Linked DNA regions of Homo sapiens: region 1 is linked to region 2. Evidence: promoter capture Hi-C in human tissues and cell types (Jung and others, 2019). All regions are on one chromosome and are shown on one strand. The core of a region is centred on a gene start or on the middle of the fragment in contact, and the rest is flanking DNA. Distances in the headings are between cores, read along the strand shown.

The links. Contacts are between HindIII fragments. The study calls those that stand out against the background at their distance.
Region 1: a fragment that was not itself captured here is called in contact with the fragment with the promoter of SLC6A3 in region 2 in 5 of the 25 tissues and cell types used here (H1 embryonic stem cells, lymphoblastoid cells, mesendoderm cells and 2 more).

Annotation. Positions count from the first base shown.
Region 1 is chr5:1,566,791-1,569,490 of GRCh38, forward strand. No RefSeq gene overlaps it. Among named protein-coding and RNA genes, the nearest start is that of LPCAT1, 44 kb to the left of the region's middle. The HindIII fragment of the contact is 6,111 bases long and covers 1-2,700 here.
Region 2 is chr5:1,443,932-1,446,738 of GRCh38, forward strand. SLC6A3 (solute carrier family 6 member 3) reads right to left here and starts at 1,509. Exons shown (of 15, transcript NM_001044.5): 1 at 1,417-1,509. RefSeq lists an enhancer at 2,147-2,646. The HindIII fragment of the contact is 20,714 bases long and covers 1-2,807 here.

The DNA.
Region 1 (2,700 bases), core at 36-2,535, 120 kb after region 2:
GGAGAGTGCCTGTGGACCTCCCCTCGGACTAAAATAGCAACTTGGGGGTTTAGCCCTGTCCCATCAATCCCCAGGCCTACATGTTCTCCTTTCTTCCAGTGGGGGTCTAGGGGATTAGAGATTATTAGTTCTAGTGGGTTACAGTGACCGGCAGCACAGGAGAGATTGGCTTCCCCTTTTTGAAGGTGAACTGGGTCTTTTTTGTCCTTTTTTTAAGTAGCCTAAATAACACATGGCCAATAGGCACAATTTTCACAGATCCTTGACTTATGACAAACATATTTATTTTTTACTGTGTAGCTCTTTTCCTAGTTAAGAGAACTCCATTTTAATTCTAGCTTGTTACCATTAATGGCTGCACAAGCATCAAATTTTAAAGTTACTTGTTTGGGAATTTCTTTTTCTTCTCTTCTAGTTATTATTTTACTTGTATCGCCAAGGAAAGGACCAGTTTTTTATTTTAAAAACGGTGGTCGCAGGGGGCTTGGATGGGTTATAACACCCATCAGATTGGTCATTTCCTGGGCTACGTACCTTGTACTGTGACATTATACAAACAAGTTCCTTTTGATGTTCCTGTACATTTATAATAACTATAGAATGAAGGGGACCAGCCCCTCCACACCTGTGGGTATTTCTCATCAGGCGGGATGAGAGACTGAGAAAAGAAATAAGACACAGAGACAAAGTATAGAGAAAGAAAAGTGGGCCCAGGGGACTGGCGCTCAGCATACAGAGGACCCGCACTGGCACCGGTCTCTGAGTTCCCTCAGTATTTATTGATTACTATTTTCACTATCTCAGCAAGAGGAATGTGGCAGGAGAACAGGGTGACAGTGGGGAGAAGGTCAGCAAGAAAACATGTGAGCAAAGGAATCTGTGTCACAAGTAAGTTCAAGGGAAGGTACTATGTCTAGATGTGCACGTAGGCCAGATTTATGCTTCTCTCCACCCAAACATTTCAGTGGAGTAAAGAGTAACAGCAGCATTGCGGCCAACATGTCTCGCCTCCCACCACAGGGTGGTTTTTCTCCTATCTCAGAATTGAACAAATGTACGATCAGTTTTATACTGAGACATTCCGTTCCCAGGGGAAGGCAGGAGACAGAGGCCTTCCTCTTTTACTAATCCTACTCAGCACAGATCCTTCACGGGTGTCGGGCTGGTGGATGGTCAGGTCTTTCCCATCCCACAAGGCCATATCTCAGTGGGGAGAAACCTTGGATGGTACCCGGCTTTCCTGGGCAGAGGTCCCTGCGGCTTTCCGCAGTGCATTGTGCCCCTGGTTTATCGAGAATGGAGAATGGCGATAACTTTTACCAAGCGTACTGCCTGTAAGCATTTTCTTAACAAGGCACGTCCTGCACAGCCCTAGATCCCTGAAACCTTGATTCCATACAACACAGGTTTCTGTGAGCTCAAGGCTGGGGCTAAAGTTACAGATTAACAGCATCTCAGGGCAAAACAATCGCTCGGGGTACAGATCAAAATGGAGTTTCTTACGTCCTCCTTTTCTACACAGACACAGTACCAGCCTGATCTCTCTTTTCCCCACATTTACAAACGCCACAGTGAAGAACTTTGTTGCAAACACATGCAGGCTGTGAAAAGAACTCTGTGCCTAAAGTCCTTTCATTTCTTTGCTGGAGTTTTTTTGAGGCAGATTCTAGAATTGCTGAGTCAAAGGGCAAATGCCATGTAGTTTTGTTAGACGCTGCCAAATCCTCTTCCATGAGGCTGCAATATTCTGCATTCCACAGTGACGTATGAGAGTCCTTGTATCCCACAGCTTCATAAACAAAGCATGACGGCACATCTGCACGTTTACCAATCACACAGGTGAGAAATCTTATCCTAGTTTCACCTTTGTTTTTGGTTTGCATTTTTGTGACCAGCTTTTTTATGGTATAATGCACAGAAGGTAATGAACACATTCTACCCACAAGCTTCTTCCTGTGCCTTTGGAATCTGCTCCTGCCAGTCTGCAGGCAACCACGGATCTGCTTTCCGTCACGTAGGAGGCATTCTTGACACCCTCTGTACACAGCATGCACTTTTTAAATTTGGCTTCTCTTACACAGCATAGTGACTTTCAGATTTATTCAAGCTGCTGCGTGTGCCAATAGTCCACTCCTTCCTAGTGCTGAGGCCCCCATCACATGAGCACAACTGTTTCCTGTGTGTGATGTGTTGTTCTCTGGCTGTGCACTGCCAAAAAAGACATCATTAAAAAAAATCTAAATATAATGTAAAACCTGCCTTGTCTTAGGAAAAGTTTTTCTGGCAGTGGCTCACACCTATAATCCCAATACTCTGGGAGGCTGAGGCAGGAGGACTGCTTGAGCCCAGGAGTTTGAGACCAGCCTGGGCAAGATGGTGAAACCCTGTCTCTGTAAAAAATATAAAAATTAGCCAGGCATGGTGGCTCACACCTGTAGTCTCAGCTCCTTGGGAGGCTGAGGTGGGAGGATTGCTGGAGCCCGGGAGGTGGAGGTTGCAGTGAGCCGAGATCACAGCACTGCACTCCAGCCTGGCCGGCATGGCAAGACTCTGTCTCTACCAAGACAAAAACAAAAAATTAATAGAAGAAAAGCAAAGATTTTTCTTACCAAAAATACACTTTAAGGAACAAATTTATCATATTAAGTTGGTGCAACAGTAATCATGGCTTTTGCCATTGAAAGTAATGGCAAACACCAC
Region 2 (2,807 bases), core at 259-2,758:
AAGCGATCCTCCTGCCTCAGCCTCCCAAAGTGCTGAGATGACAGGCATGAGCCACCAAGCCTGGGCTTGTATTGTTTATACTCAGTAATAAAGAGCAAAATTTATATAAGCAAAATCAGCCACTGTAAAGAGAGTTTAGACATAACCATCACAACTGCTTCCTCAAAAAGTGTCTGTACAAGCCACATCCACCTAGGGCAGGTGGCACCACCCCGCGTGAGAGAGCTGGGCGGAGGATGGACAGGGCTTCATCGCGGGAACTAGCTCCTGGGCCAGCAGGGTAACCCGGGAAATCCTGTCCAAACGGCTACATAAACCCCCCTGCAACGCTGAGCAGGAGAGCAGGAGCGTCTACACCGCCCCAGCCAGGGCGACTTCTGTCATTTGGATCCAGCAGCAGCGTGTTTCAGTCGAGCGCACGCACACACAGACACACAGACACACACAGACTCACAAACACACATACACACTCACACACACACAGGCGAGCACATACACTTACACACATACACACTCACACTCACACAGGTGCGCACACACACACAACGACTGAAGCAGGTCGCAGGTGGAGGCTCTAACAGGCAACTTTCCCTGCATCCAAGTTTGCACAAAACCTCACCCATGAGCTATCACGAGCTATGCCACGCACCCGGTGACAACCTCAACCGGCACGACCCCTCCGGTGGGTAAAACACCCGACGAAGGGGTTCCGCGGCGCGAGCAGGAGGCCGCGTTGGGAGAGGGCGTCGGGTGCGGAGCTCGCGAGTCTCCGGCAAGCCGCCGCCGCCCTGGGGCCACCTGACCCCGCTCCTGAACGCGGGGCCTCAGAGGCGAGTTTTGGGTCTACACAGCAAAATGTGGCCCGTTAGAAAGCGTCCTTCCTCACCGCGCCCAGAACAAGAAGCGGCGCTGCCTGGCGAGTCCTCGCCCGGCCTCCCCGCCCTGCCCAGAGCACCAGCGCGCAGCCCGCGCCCGCCACCACCCCCAACACAGACAAAGCCCCCGCGAGATGGAGCGGCGGTGTACAAAACCCACTCCGATCGGATCTGGGATGCGCCGCACCCCTAGTAGGGTTAAGTTCCACGAGAAGAAACCAGGACCCCCGAGTCACAGCCATAGACACCCACGCGTCCCCTAAGCCGGTGACTGCACCAGGTGCCCACCCGGTTCTGAGCCTGGAGCGGGGCCAGGGGCAGCCCTGCACCCTCCTCGCGCCTCGGACGGCCTCAGGGTCCCATGTGGCGCTATCGGGGGGCGCTCGGCACCCGCGACTGTTGGCGACTTTGGAGACGGCGCGGTCTGCGGGACGCGGGGACCCCAGACTGTGCCCGGTCCCCGGCCCCCGCCCCTGCGCCCCACTTCGGGGTCTGCGGAAGGAGCGGGGCGCCCCGATGCCGCGAGCGACGCTGGCCTCACCTGGCCGCCCGGGCCTGGGCTTTGCACGCGAGTCCTGGCGCCGAGAGCGTTCCGCGAAGCCTCCCCTCCCGCTCCGCAGCGCTGGGCGGTCTCAGCCTCGGCCTCGGGCTCTTATCCAGTAGACAGGGTCCGCCCCGCCCCGCCCTCCCGCCGACGGGGTCGCCCTCGCGTCCTGGCTCCTCCTCCTCACCTCCCCGGGCCGCGCCCCCGCCCCCGCCTCCCGGACGCAGATGGCTGGGAGCAAGCGGCGGCCACGGCTCCACTGTCCTGCGCGTCCCGGAGCCTCGGACACGGGGTGCGGGGGCCTGGGGGTCCGAGACGTCGCGGATCTAGACGGGCGCCTTCCACGCGGGAACTGTCTGGGCCGCCCTGCGCCCTCGCCCGCACCCCTGGGGGCTGCCCCGGGCACCCGCTATCTTCGGACGCCCAGGGCTGGCGGCTCCCAGCTGGACGGGGAGGGAGCCGAGCGGCTGCGCGCGGGGAACTGCTGGGACCCCGTCGGGCCGACCCTTCCCTCCCTCCCCATCAGGGGCCCCTACGGTGGCCCCGCGCTCTGGGGACCACGTCCCTCCCACCCCGCCGCTCCACGCTCTGACCAGCGGGCTCGGGACCCCGCCGAGGACTCTGCACGCTTCCCGGCGTGCGGGCTGCGGAGACGCGGGTCCTTCCGTGGCCTTGGGGTCTCCGCGACCTCGAGGCGACCGAGGTCCCCTAGGCCTAGTCCCCGCCTTGCCGGCATCTAGTGCGCCTGCATCGGAACCGAGGGGCCCGCCTCGCACTCGCCTAAGAAAACCATTTCCCGGGACGGGCCTGGAAAGCCCTGGCGGTTGGTATCCGGCTCCAGGGCCGAATGGACTCCGAGGCTTTCCTTCCGAGATGCCCGGGCGGGATTTCTTCCATTCAGCGCGCGGAGGAATGGAGCCCCCAGGCCGCCAAGGCCCAGGATGTCCAGGTCCTTAGAAGGCACCGAGGTGAGTGGCCGCGCCCAGCTCTGTGCGTCGCCCCTAGGGTCGCCCGAACCCCGGCGTTCCTCCCCGTGTACCCTCGATGCTCCCGTGAGCACCCTGCCCTGGGCGTCCAGGCGAGCCCTGGGGCTCTCCAGCCATTCCAGCCTGCAGCCCGCGCTCAGCAGTGAGGGAGGCAGGGACCCTTGGTGCCTGACTCCGCAGTACCCGCCCGCAGCGCGGTGCCCCACCCCCTGCGCCCGCCCCGCACTCCCCGCACACCACCACTCCCCTCCCCGCCCCCCGCTCCCCCGCTCCCCGGCTCCGGGGCTGGCACCCAGGCAGAAGGCACTCAGGGCTGTGACTTCACGCTGAGTTGGAATCAAGTGGGAGCCTAGTGACCCCCTGGGGCTGCCATGACAAAAAACTCCACAGCCTGGGGGCTCA